Regions from separate parts of the Homo sapiens genome. Here regions 1 and 3 are each linked to region 2. Evidence: promoter capture Hi-C in human tissues and cell types (Jung and others, 2019). All regions are on one chromosome and are shown on one strand. The core of a region is centred on a gene start or on the middle of the fragment in contact, and the rest is flanking DNA. Distances in the headings are between cores, read along the strand shown.

Evidence for each region. The method cuts DNA at HindIII sites, captures the fragments that hold promoters and counts their contacts. A contact is called where the count stands out against the background at its distance.
Region 1: a fragment that was not itself captured here is called in contact with the fragment with the promoter of MYO5C in region 2 in 2 of the 25 tissues and cell types used here (dorsolateral prefrontal cortex and lymphoblastoid cells).
Region 3: a contact is called between a fragment that was not itself captured here and the fragment with the promoter of MYO5C in region 2, in 1 of the 25 tissues and cell types used here (lymphoblastoid cells).

What each region holds. Positions count from the first base shown.
Region 1 is chr15:52,591,981-52,596,674 of GRCh38, forward strand. It overlaps ATOSA (atos homolog A), which reads right to left. Exons shown (of 13, transcript NM_001385016.1): 10 at 1,598-1,756. Among named protein-coding and RNA genes, the nearest start is that of ARPP19, 25 kb to the left of the region's middle. The HindIII fragment of the contact is 3,446 bases long and covers 427-3,872 here.
Region 2 is chr15:52,294,052-52,298,580 of GRCh38, forward strand. MYO5C (myosin VC) reads right to left here and starts at 1,753. Exons shown (of 41, transcript NM_018728.4): 1 at 1,559-1,753. The coding sequence starts at 1,585. LOC105370819 (a long non-coding RNA gene) reads left to right here and starts at 833. Exons shown (of 4, transcript XR_932250.3): 1 at 833-1,160. RefSeq lists a silencer at 1,417-1,576. The HindIII fragment of the contact is 3,447 bases long and covers 399-3,845 here.
Region 3 is chr15:52,772,171-52,777,093 of GRCh38, forward strand. All of the region lies in intron 1 of ONECUT1 (one cut homeobox 1), which reads right to left. Among named protein-coding and RNA genes, the nearest start is that of ONECUT1, 16 kb to the right of the region's middle. The HindIII fragment of the contact is 4,815 bases long and covers 1,165-4,923 here.

The DNA of each region.
Region 1 (4,694 bases), core at 900-3,399, 300 kb after region 2:
AGTGTCAAACACTAATCAAGCTCTTGACTAAAATCTTCACCCTTAGAATGGAGTAAGCTTTCCTTGAAGAAACTGGGCCAGTAATGAGTAGGCCACATATAGGTTCCTAAAAGTAGCTTCCTTTCCTCTCTGTTGTTTCTCAATTGTATAGATGTCCCTTTTTACAGCTTTTATTAATGACAAAAGTCATTGTTACTAATGTCCTTGAAAACCTAGAAGGTTGTGGAGAGGGGTGTTAGGAGAGGAAGCAGTTGGGCCAGATAGTAAGTTAGGAAATTCAAGCAGCAAGACTAGGCTATAATGTTCAATGCCTACAGTAATCTGCATTTCTCAAAAGTAACACCTAAAATGAAAACCCAGATTTGACTCCATATTTGATACCATCACTGTCAACTTTTTACAGACCTGCATGGCTAGCTACTTGTCTCTCTTTGTCTTTTGGAAGAGGGCTGATACTAATCATATACTAGTACTCAGTATTGTTTTTGCAAATGAATGCTTATATTATCCACAAGCCATTGGAATAAAAAAATTGGAAAGGTGAAATCATAAGATTGATCTTAAGGCTCAACACTATAACTCAGAGGTGTCCAATCTTTTGGCTTCCCTGGGCCACACTGGTAGAAGAATTGTCTTGGGCCACACATAAAATATACTAACACTAACAATAGCTGATGAGCTAAAAAACAAAAATCACACAAAAAAATCTCATAATGTTTTAAGAATGTTTACAAATTTGTGTTGGGTTACATTCAAAGCCTTCCTGGGTTGCATGTGGGCTGTAGGCCGGACAAGCTTGCTGTAACTCCTCTTAGTTATTTCACTCTCCATTAAGACATTAGCGTGAGTCTGAAGTAGCTAGTATCCTAAAGAACTCTAGGATTAGGCCAGTTGTGGTGGCTCATGCCTGTAATCCCAACACTTGGAAGGCCAAAGTGGGAGGTCTGCTTGAGGCCAGGAGTTCAAGACCAGCCTGGGCAATATAGGGAGGCCCTGCCTCTACAAAACATAAAAATTAGCTAGGCATGGTGGCGCATATCTGTAGACCCAGCTATTTAGGAGCTCCAAGGCAAGAGGATGGTTTGAGGCCAGAAGTTTGAGGCTACAGTGGGCTATGACTGCACCACTGCATTCCAGCCTAGGCAAGAGAGTGAGATGCTGTCAAAAAAAAAAAAGAACCCTAGGATTAGAAAAAAATAGGCCCAAAGACAAACCAAACCGAAAAGGGAGTAAAAGGGCCATACAGAAGCCTTATGTCACCAAAGCCTTGTAGGACTAGAGGACACAGTGCACACTAAGCATTTGAGAATGTGTGTGAACTCAGCAAGATGGAATTACAGTGTCACTAATCAATTTTTATCATTTTTTCAAGACAAAGAGAAATAAGTACATTTTTAGTACCATCCTTAAATGCAAAAGAGGTTATCTGTTGTTTGAACTAGCTTAGAAAGAAGTTGTGAGGTAATATTTTGGCATATTAGTTTGTATTCAGCTGTTAGGAAATGATTTATATTTTCAAGTACTGCATCAAAGCACTTAAATTTGTCATTAAGTTGGTTGATTTGGCAGGAAAACATACAATATAAAAAATACTTGCCATATAAGGAGAGGGAGCATTGTCATCTGAAACACTGTAGAATGACACTTCAACTGGAAGAGTCAAATGTGTGGGGCAGAAAGCACCACTTGCCCCTACCTCGGCAGTAAAACCATCAACAATGCCGAGAGGATCGAAACGATAGTTCAAGACAGATTCCTGGAAGACAAAATAATTTTAAAAACTCAATTAAAAAAGCTAACACATTCATTTTTTTTCTATTTAAAGAAATATACACTTAGTCTAAAGGCAGAGAAGTGATTAAAAGAAATATATTACTATGCTTTCTAGCACTAGAACAGTGGTTGTTACCATTGCCATGTCCTTATTTCTGCTTTTCATCTGACTTGAAGTCAACTGCATCTCCCATCAGTCTTCTACCATCCTACAACAGTTTGGTCTTCTCTCACTATTCCAACTCACACTGAACTCTCCTGCAACTTCAGCATTAGTTAGGCCTAATTGTTTACTATGTTGTTTTTATATCTGTAAATTTAAAAATATGCTCTATCAGAGCAGGTATTTATCCCTCACAGTGCCTATTCATGGTGCTAGACACAGAGAAACACCTGAAAACCTAACAGGTTATATATGGAAGTTCCATCAAAAGATGAAGTCAAGCACTTATAATTCTAACCGAGAAATAATTGCTTCTCTTATAAATACTGTAGTATGTGATATGTTTTAGTTTAAAACATAAAAATGTGCATTTATAAAAAGTTTAGAAGTACAGAAATAGTACAGAAGCTCCTTATCCATCCCTCCCCCAAGGTCACTCACTGAGATAACTACTTTTAAAATTTAGTGGTTATTTTCCCACTTATGAGAAACATTTAAAACTTTTCACAAGCTTTATTTTATATAAATATATCAACACATATATGTATACATCATGAAATGTGAGTAGCATTCCTTTGATTAATTCTTTGAAAAGAAATGCTACAAAGCCTCATGATTCTAAAAGTTTGTGTAGTCTAAATGTGAAACAGTGACATATCAGCAATTCTAATCTCCTGATCAAAAAGATAAAGCCAAAAGACCTGGGTCACAATCAACCTTCTATATCTCCTTTTTGCCCTCTAATCAATCCAATCCATATCCTGTTGATTTTACCTCTCAGTCTCAGGGCCTCATTTCCATCCCCACTACTACCACTATCCTAGTGACCTAGGTGATCCTCATAACCTCTCCTCTGAATAAATGCTACATCTTCTAATTAGTCTTTCCATCTGTAGTGTATCCTCTGTACTACTGCCAGAGTTCTTTTTCTTTTTTTGAAAAAAGCCTTATAGTATCACCTACCACTTAAAAACTTTGTTTCCTGCTGTCTATAGGATGAGGTCAACATTCATAGCACAGCACTTAAGCTCCACCATGCCTCTCATTTCATCTCTCCCAACATATACAGAGTCCCATGCTCTAGCTCCAGTTGATCCTTTCCAACATTGCCATGCTCTTTTACGTTTGCACATGAAGTTCCCTTTGTCTAGAATCTCTGATTCCTGAACAAATTTACCTGGCAAATTCCTTCTCATCTTTTGTGACCAAGCTCAAATGACAGCTCCTCAGTAAAGCTTTCCTCAATCCTTTTAGCAGAGATAGTAGATACACAAGTACTAGGCAACTTCTATTACAATGCTAATTACTTGAGTTTATAAATTATTTACTCACCTGGGTAAATTATATGCCCACCTTCTCCAGTAGACAATAAACGTCTCTAAGGCAGGAACTTTATCATTTAAACTTTGTATTCCTAGCACATAGTAAGTACTCAACAAATATTTCCCAAATAAAAAGTCTATTCTGAAGGTGCAAAAAATTTTCATAGGAGAGGTACATACAAAAATGTTTATGGATTAAGGCAAATGACCAATATTAGTTGCTGACTTTATCTGAGATATTTTAGATTTTTGTAAATTTAATATACAAGCATATATGCTAGGCCCCACTCAGTGCAGTATGACAAGAAAAAAAAAAAAGGCACGAAAATAAAAAAGCCAAAACTATCCCTATTTATAGATGACAAGACTGTCTATGTAGAAAAATCCCAAGGATTATTTTTTAAAATCTACTGAAATTAGTGAGTGAGTTGAGCAAGATCACTGGCGATTTTTTGTAGATAACACACACACACATACATTCATTTAAAAATACTAGCAATGAACAATTGACAATTAATTTTTAAGTTACAATATCCCAGAAAACATGAAATACTTAGGTATACATCTACAAAAAGATATCAAAAATCTGGGCTAGGCGTGGTGGCTTACACTTGTAATCCCAGCAGTTTGGGAGACTGAGGTGAGTAGACTGCTTGAGGCCAGGAGTTTACGAAAAGCCTGTGCAAACACAGCAGGGCCCTATTTCTACAAAAATTTTTTAAAAAATTAGCTGGGTGTGGTGGTACAAGCGTAGAGTCCTAGCTACTTGGGAGGCTGAGGTGGGATGAATGCTTCAACCCAGGAGATCCAGGCTGCAGTGAGGTATGATCACGCAGCTACACTCCAGCCTGGGTGACAGAGAAAAGTCCCTACCCCTATTAAAAATAAAAAAGATGTCCAAGATATGCATGCTAAAAACTATAAAACACTGATGAAACAAATAAAAGAATATATAAATAAATGAATTTCAGGGATTGAAAGACTTTATATTTTTAAGATGTCAATTTTCCTCCAATCGACCTGTATTAATGTAGGCCAAACAAAATCTCAGCAGGCTATTTTGTGGAAATAGACAAGATGATTCTAAAATTTATATGAAAAGATAAAGGAGCTAGAATAGTTTAAGCAATTCTGAGAAAGAACAATAAAGTTAGGACTCACATTACCTGATTTCAAGACTAGAAAATTGAACATCCATATGCGTAAAAGGGAACCTTGATCGCACACCTCCTATCATGTAAAAATTAACTCAAAATAGATCACAGATCTAAACGTATGAGCTAATACAAACTTTCAGAAGAAAACAGAAAAAAAGCTTTGTGACCTTGGGTTGGGCCAGTGGTTCTCACCCAGGGGATATATGGTAATATATGAAGACATTTTTGGTTGCTAGAACTAGGCATGGGGGTACTATTGGAATCAAGTGGGTAGAGGCC
Region 2 (4,529 bases), core at 503-3,002:
TCTCATTCCCTCCAAGCTTGTACCTTTAAACTCCTTCCTATCAGTTTTCTTACATTGTGCCTGGTACTTACTAGACATTTAATAAATATCTGAGGTTTGAGGCACCTAAAAATAGGGGTGCTTGCACCTGTGTGTTTCTGCTTCTGGAAATACTGTCACCTCAAATAGGTTCAGCAGCAGCATTTTTCTCTGTCCTCCAAAGTATCGTCGAAGACTAGTCCAAGACTTTTCTTTCACTTCCAGTAAACTGAAGGCTGAAGAAGCGCTGTTGGCTGTCTGAGGGCTCACAGTCTCACTGGTGAAAATATTCTAGAACAAAACTAGGGCAATTCAAACACTGTCCATTTAGAACTCCAGTTAATGGAGATGCAATAGAGGAGAAACTACAGTTCGGTTGCTTTGTGTCCGGACTGTTACTAAGTAATCAAAGTAGAAGAAAAACGTTTGCTTAAACCATTGAAACATGATTTTTTAAATAACTATCTTTTCTATCTACAGCAAAAGCATCTTTTAAAGTAGAAAGCTAGAGCATGTGTCCGGGGAAATGGATGGATTCTAGTTCCACTCGTCTGAATACTGAGGTCTCTAGATTTCCCCAACTGGTGTATAGGAGGATCAGGCTTTATGGCTATTCAAATGGATTTTTTTTTTCAAAAGTGCTAACACTGTCACACTCTTTATCCAAATAATTACCCAAGCCCATCTCAGAGGGTTTGGGACATATGTGGGAACGCTGCCCTTCCGAGGTAAGAGGTGGAGCCCCAGCCAGCAGAAAGGAAGCTTCTGAGGAATGCTCTAGTGTTTCCCAGAGTCAGGGTATATGAAAGGCGCTTTAGAAACTGTGGTGTTTGTACTGTTGCTAACAGTACAGATGTTAGGCAAAGAGCCTACGACTGCACCTCGTGGCCCCTGGGCTCCCCAAGCGCTTGGTGCCACTGCAGTGCCCTCAAGCCTGTGACCCAGGCTGCTTCAGCTTCTGATGAGCCTACATGCACGTTCACGCACTTTGAAGACACAGAATTCTAGAAAGCAGCCCGAACACTGCGGCCATAAGCTTCTATGCCAGCTCGTTCAAGGGGGTCCCAGGAGGGGCCAGGAGACTGGCCGGCGTCTCAGCTTCCTACGTCCGCATGGGCAACTCTGATTCCACCCGTGGTGTGGTAGGAAGGGACCGAGGCGCTCCAGTCCCGGGAGATGGGGACGCACGCGCGACCCCTGGGCACTGGGGATTCTAGGCCCCGAGGCCGGAGCGGCGGAGGGGGCGGCCCCTCCCACAGGGTCTTCCCACCCACAGGGCACCCAGGCGCAGCGGAGCCAGGAGGGGGCTTACCCGCGGGCAGGGACGGAGCACGCCGGGGCCCTGGAGGGGCGACGCTCGCTCGTGTCCCCGGTCCCCGTGGCCCCTCCGCGGCGCCTCCGCGGCCCCCAGCGCGCGCCCGCCCGCCCTGCCGTGTCAGGTGCGCAGGTGTGGCAGGTGTGGCCCGGGCGCCAGGTCGAGTCAGCGTTAGCAGGGCCGGCTCCCCCACAGCGCTCCCAGGAGCCCAGCGGACCCTCCTACCTGCGTGTACAGCTCGGCCACCGCCATGGGCAGGAGGGGCCGGGGCCAGGCCGGGGCTGCCGAACGTGCGAGGCTCGGGGGCTGGGCCTGCGCCGCAGAGGCCGGGCGCAGGAGAGACCGCCGCGGAAATCACCGCCGGGCCATCTTGCCCAAAGTTTTCCAACGGCCTCCTGTTCCCGTTCCCGAGTTGGCGGCGAGGGGAGGGGGCAGCGGCGGGATTGGTCCCTCCAAGCTTGGCCCGGCTAGTCGGCGCTGCCATTGGCCGGGGCCGGGCGGCTGCACCTGGCGGGAGCGCGGGTGGAGAAGGTTGGGGCCCGGGGCGCGCTGCCAGGCAGGAACAGATGCATCCGGAGGCTGCCCGGCCCGAGTGTTAGCTCCTCAAAGAGCAGAGGATACGACCATTTAAATGGAAGACCCAAGGGAATCAACGTACTGAACACAAAGAAATGTGTTAAGAGTCCAGCAAGGTCATCGTATTCAAAATCAAATACAAAAATAAGTAATGGTCCTTTATATGAGCATTGTCTATGCAATACAAGATATTTACAATATTAGTGAAAATATAAAGTATCCAGAGATTACACTCGCAAAAATGCCCTTGGCCTTTGTGGAGAAAATGTTTAAAATTCTCTTAAAGAGCTTAAAAGAAGGCCCAGGTAAACGGGAGACATGCCATTTTCCTGGCTGGGAATATTTAATATGGTCAAGGTGTCACTTCTACCCAAATCAATATATATGCCTAATATATTGGCGTCAGAATCCTACAGAACTTTTGGAGAATTGTACAATGATTCTATATTTCATATAGAATAAAAGCCCTGTATAACTAAGACAATTCTCAAAGAGGAGAGATTTGTCCTGCCATATATTTAGGGACATAACAAAGCAGTAGTCATTAAAACAGTGTGACACTTGCGTGAGAACGGATACGTGAGTAATGGAACATGCTGGAGCCCCCCAGCAGGGCCCTACATTATACGGTAGCCTTAAGGACCAGATAGGGAAATAAAATAATATTTATTAGATGGGCCCGTTATATGGAAAAACAATAAAAGCAGATCCGTGGCAAACACTGCATCCAAAAATAAGCTCCAGATGGATTCACGATTAAAACTTAAAACCGGGAAATTATTAGGAATAAAAGAGGGATAATATCTTTAAAATGTTGGGTTATAGTAGTTTCCATATAGAAGAATTGTTAATCGGTTAAAGAAAAGAAATCCAATTTTTAAAACTGACAAAAATTAATAGGCAATTCACAGATGGGGACACTTAAATGGCTTGTTAGCATACAAGGAGATGTCAACTTTAGCAGTAATCAGATAAATACAAATGAAAACAACAATGAGATATTGCTTTTTACCCATCATATTGGCAAAAACATTTAGGTTAGACAATCTCAGATACTGCCTAGGATGTGAGAAAATAAAAACTTGGCCGGGCGCGGTGGCTCACGCCTGTAATCCCAGCACTTTGGGAGGCCGAGGCGGGCGGATCACGAGGTCAGGAGATCGAGACCATCCTGGCTAACACGGTGAAACCCCGTCTCTACTAAAAATACAAAAAATTAGCCGGGCGAGGTGGCGGGCGCCTGTAGTCCCAGCTACTCGGGAGGCTGAGGCAGGAGAATGGCGTGAACCCCAGGGGGCGGAGCCTGCAGTGAGCCGAGATTGCGCCACTGCACTCCAGCCTGGGCGACAGAGCGAGACTCCGTCTCAAAAAAAAAAAAAAAATAAATAAAAAAAATAAAAACTTTTTTTGCTTACATAACTGGTGGGAATATACTGCCATCCTGGAGAGCAATTTGAGAATAGTTATGAAAATAAATGTAGGCAGAAAAATTCTCACAGTCACCCAAAGAGACAGTTAAGTAGATGTTCATCACAACATAGTTATTTATCAAAGAGTTGGAAGCATCTAAATATCAATAGGGGAATAAATAAAATAGTATATACATGGCAGACAGCAGAGAAAAATAAAAAAAGAAATAGTATATACATGTAAAACTCTACAGCTGTTAGTAGGAATAGACATGATCTACTTGACTCAGAAATAAAAAACAATGTTGAATAGATGTCTAGCCCAAGTCTTTAATATTTAAAAACTCACAAAAACTGCAATACTGAATATTGTTCATGGGTACAAGTATGTGTGAATAGAGGTAAGGAGGATAAATTACAAAGTCATTCATTAAATATGCAAGAGTGGATACCTATGAGGGAGAGAAATGGAATCGGAGATTTCAAAAAGGGGATCAAAAAATATAAAGAGAGGCCTGGCATGGATCAATAATGATAAATGCCACAAAGAGAGGATCATGGTAAATTTAATTTTGCATTTATTTATATACAAAATTATTTATATTATTGCCCAAATAATTCTATTTTGTATAAAGAAAAAGAAAATCTATAAGGTGAGTAGTGACAGCTGCCTGATTGCTCAGAGTTAAAAAGAGAATCTAGCTGCCTTTTTTATTTAAAGAAAATTTTTATTGAAGAATAAAATTATATACAGAAAAGTGTGCAAATAATAAGTGTACAGCTCAATATATTCTTATTCATGGAACACATCAACACACCAAAGTAACCACCGCCCAGATCCAGACGTAGAACATTACCGATATCCCAAAACTTTCTCTGTTTCTTCAAATCATTTTCTCTCAAAGATAACCACTGTTCTGATTTGTATCACCATAGATGCGTTTTACCTGTTTTGGATGTTTTTAATAAATGGAATCACATGTGTAACTCTTGCATTTGGCTTTTTACATGGTATTTATTCATCTTGTTGCATGTAGCTGCGGTTTGAGGTCTTTCATTCCTGTCTAGTAGTATTCCATTGTATAAATATTCTACAATTTATTCATTCTCCTATTGATAAATATTTCGGTTGCTTCAGTTTACACCCACTATGAATAATGCTGCTATGAACATTTTATATGTGTCTTTTGATGCACAAATATATGTATTTT
Region 3 (4,923 bases), core at 2,322-4,821, 480 kb after region 2:
GATCATGAGGTCAGGAGATCGAGACCATCCTGGCTAACACAGTGAAACCCCGTCTCTACTAAAAATACAAAAAATTAGCTGGGCGTTGTGGCACACACCTGTAGTCCCAGCTACTTGGGAGGCTGAGGCAGGAGAATCGCTTGAACCCGGGATGCAGAGGTTGCAGTGAGCCAAGATCGTGCCACTGCACTCCAGCCTGGGCGACAGAGCGAGACTCCATCTAAAAAAAAAAAAAAAAAGCGAGATGTGTGTGAAGTTTGTTCACGGAGTTCATTGGAGGCAGAGGGTTTTGTTCTGTGATTATGATGAAAGAGGAAGTTGGGTGAGAATGGAGGAAAAGATCAGAGTAATGGCTGTGAGCTTTTTAGCGCTAATTGACAGGGCCTCCTTCATCTTGACTTGTCTGAATTTACTGCCAAGTGCCTAACATGGAAGGGAGGGAGCTGTGGGACTGAAGGGCATCCCTGTGGGCAAGTAAGTGTATCTCATGCCCAGAAAGAGGAAGAACAAGGTTTTTGTGCCACTCCTTATTATCCACCGGGCTGGCTCCAAGAGATGAACTAAAGAACTGGAGGGTTTTTGTTGTTTTTGTTTTAATTTCTGCAGCTCCACACCCATGCTGTGACAGGAACCCTATTAGTTTGTACTGGGCTTGTTTTAGGGTTGTTACATTTAGAGGATGTTTAAAGTGTTATTTTATATAATAAGACGTGGCATGAGTGCACACACACATACGCATATAACAAACCCAAGCTGCATATTTTGGCGTGTGCTTATCAAGCTGTAACATGCATTAGAATCACTTCCAGGGCTTGTTAAAACGTGACAAGCCAGAGTTTCTAGCCAGAGTTTCTGATTCCATAGGATTTCTAACAAGCTCCCAAGTGATGCTGGGGCGTGGGTATGGCAGGTGGGGTGGGGAGAGAGAACTGCAAATGAATCTTAACTAAAACATTTTTAAGCAGGTTTGTTTATTTTATGGGTATGGGCAAAGCAATTTTGAAATGATTTTAGATGTATTACAGGATTGAGCAAATGAGTAAATGTGTGTGTGAGAGAGACAGAGAGAGAGAAAGAGAGAGAGAGAGAGGTAGATTACTGGGTACCAGAGTTCCCACTGTGCAGGAAAAGACATATAAATAGGGAATGGGGGAAGGCAGGGAAAAATCCTCTGAGGATATATTGCAATTGGAGGTGGAGGTACTGGTATGAACTAATGATTTTAGAAATACGTACATGAGCACGTATATAAGCATGTTTATGCGTACATGGATATTATGTATGTATGATGTGTATACACATATTTGTATGTGTGTGTAAATAAATGTATATGTATCTGTTTCCTGGCTTTGTCTGAGAGGGTAGAAAACCAAAAGTCACCCTAAAGCCATGAGCACACTTAGTGCCTAGGCTGTCTTGGACTCTAACATGTTTCCCCACCAGGATAAACCAGGGCTCATCAAAGAAGTGGCACATTCTAGGATTGGGGCAGAATATGTACCAAATGAGCTTGGAACATCTTATGATGCCAGAAAGTTAAAAAAAAATGTAAGCATTGTCATAGGGACACAGGAGTCAGAGGGAAAGGGCTCTCGTCAGTGAAATCTGGGACAATTTGAGCACCAAAATAGTTAAGTACAGTAATGAATTGTAAGCCACTGGAAAAAAAAGGAATGCCTGAGTCCACTCCAATCATAAATGGATAATGAGAGAGAAGGAAGGCTCTTGCAAATATCCTCTCTCTCTATCTATATGTTGAATAAATGAATGCTATTCATGATATATTTGGGAAAGGACAGGGATGATGGAATTACCAGAGATTTTTTATTGTCTCCATTATTCTTTTATGTGTTTTCAAATACTCCACCATAAATTTAATAATGGGATTTTTTAGTTTGAAAAGTTACAAAGTAGTAGTATGTACCATCCCATAGGGAAAAGATTGGAAGGATACACACACACACACACACACACACACACACACACACACACACAGAGGGTTATCTGTGTGGGGTGCTGTGGGTGATTCTTTTATTTTTTTTCTTTATTAGTGTTTTACCCTGCAGCTCCAGCTCAAAGGATGTATATAATACTAATAATTTGCAACAAGAAATGAAGTTATTTATTTATTTATTTATTTATTTTTTGAGACAGAGTTTCGCTCTTGTTGCCCAAGCTGGAGTGCAATGGCTTGATCTTGGCTCATTGCAACCTCCGCCTCCAGGGTTCAAGTGATTCTCCTGCCTCAGCCTCCCAAATAGCTGGGACTACAGGCAAGCGCCACCATGCCCAGCTAATTTTGTATTTTTAGTAGAGACGGGGTTTCACCATGTTGCTTAGGCTGGTCTTGAAATCCTGACCTCACGTGATCCTCCCACCTCGCCCTCCCAAAGTGCTGGGATAACAGGCGTGAGCCACCGCACCTGGCCAGAAGTTACCTTTTAAAAAAGCATTGAAATTAAAACATAAATTAAGAAATAAGATACAAGGTGCTTGAACATGGTAAGTATCAAACAAATGTTAAAAAAAATTTACTAAGGCTATGTCATGACAAAAGCAGAATTCAAAAAAGTATATATAAGCGGTACAATAATTAACTTTTTGGAAAAAATCTCCACCCTTGTGTTGAGGGTAGTGCTCCAAAATGATATTGTAGTTGTGTCTGAGTGTATTTATTACTTTAAAAGAGGAAACTGTATGGTAGATATAATGTTTTATAAGCTTGCATTTTGAACATCTTTCACACATTGAATTGTCTTTCATAAAAGAGCTAGAATAAGAGGTTGAGGTGGGCAGATCACCTGAGGTCAGGAGTTCAAGACCAGCCTGGCTAACATGGCGAAACTCTGTCTCTACTGAAAATACAAATTGTAGCCTGGTGCAGTGGTACACACCTGTAATCCCAGCTACTCGGGAGGCTGAGGCAGGAGAATCACTTGAACCCAGGAGGCGGAGGTTGTAGTGAGCTGAGATTGCGCCACTGCACTCCAGCCTGGGTGACAGAGCAAGACTGTCTAAAAAAAAAAAAAAAGAGCTAGAATAAGCTAGAATAAGGGGACCACCACTGAAGCACTTGGGAGCATTTTCAACCTACGCAGAGGGGTGGTCACCCTGTACTACTTCTCTTTTAATTTCATTACTCAGATAATTGCACTGGGCAGCATCTTCTAGGGAGGCAATTTTCTGGCCAAATAATTAAAAGAAGTAAGAGCCATTTAGTACTTTCCCTAGAAAGTTATCTTTTGGGAGATGGGAGAGGCCCTTGATTATTTTTAAAGAGGAACACACACACACACACACACACACACACACACACACACACTCTTAAAGAGCCATAGACTATCTCTTAAGAATATACAAGAAACTGGTAACAGGGGTTTCTTCTAAGGGAGGGGGACTTGGGGACTTAGGGAATATGATTGGGAGGAAAACTTGTTTTTTTCTGTATACATTTTCATGCTGTTCAAATTAAAATAATGATGTGCATTTAGTATATGTTCAAAATATTTATTAATTAAAAACAATTCTTTAAAAAAGTCTGTTGCTTATGGAACAACTGTGAAAATAACTAGATCGGAGGAAAGTAAAATGTGTTTTCTTATGAAAATATGCTTGCCATTAAACTGATTAGTTTCCATCACAGATAGATTTGTAAGTGACTCAAACCAAGACTTTCCAACATTTGTCTGCCCCACCTACATGTCTGTGCTTCTGTCTACTCTGCTGTTCTCTTTGTTTATAGATAGACAGCTCTTGAGCTACCATTACTGGGGAGTTACTTTTGTTTCTCTAACAGCAGGGATGGATTTGGGCTAACCCCTTCCACTGGTTCTTCAGGGCTCCTTGTACCCAGGGAAGTGGCTGGATGGAATGTGAGTAACCATCACTGCCCACCAACACCGGGAAGTGAAAACTGGACCCAAAGGACCCACAATCTTCACCTCATTAGCATCGTGCTCACATCATGTCTCTCTCAGTAAGTAACAGGTTCCGGTGAGGCAGAAACAATCTAACTGATTGGATGCCTCAAATCTGTACAGAAGCCAGAGAGCCCACCTATCGTAGGAATGTATTTGAGAGGGTGAACTATTCTGAAACATTCCATCTTTATATTGACATCCACATAACCACTCTGCAGCTAAAGGTATATCCAAGCACCCAGCTTCCCATGCCAGAAGCAAGGAGCCTGTTCCATTTCCATTTTCACTCTCCACCATGTCTACTCGACTTTAGAAATAGCTCTCAAATTTTGCCACCCATTTTCTCCACCTTTGCTGACAATGACATATAATCAGACCCTCAGAATCTATTGCCACTTCTAGCTAGTCCCTTGCGACTTTTCCTCCCATTATCTTCCTCTCCAGCATGCTTTCAAAAGCACAAATCTGACCATTTCATTCCACAACAGGTCACAACTTCCTTTGGGCTGCACCAACACACCAGGTCCTTTGTCATCTCCTTTCAGTCTCCTTTCCAGTTTTCCTGGCTGCTCCCACAGAACTTTATTTCTACCCAGATCAGAGACTTTGTCGGTATTTATTTTCCTGCATGCTTCCTCCCTGTGAGCTCCTTCAGGATACAATAAACACCTCATTCCTCTTTCGTGCCCCTGTACTCAGCCTAGTGCCTGGCACATAGGAGGCACCCGATCAGTGTTTGGGCGAATGAAGGAAAACAGACCTTTTGAGTGATGTAACATGGCCATCAGTGGTGCTTCTCAGACTTTAATGGACACAAGAATTTCCTGGGGGTCTTGCTGAAATGCAGATTCAGGTTCAGTAGGTGTGGGGTGGAACCTGAGGGTCTACAGTTCTTACAAGTTCCCAGGTGAGGTCGATGTTGCTGTTTAGGGAGCCACACTTTGAGTAGTGAGGACCTATAGAACATTAATAACTTTTTTAGATGGAGGAGCATGTTGAATCA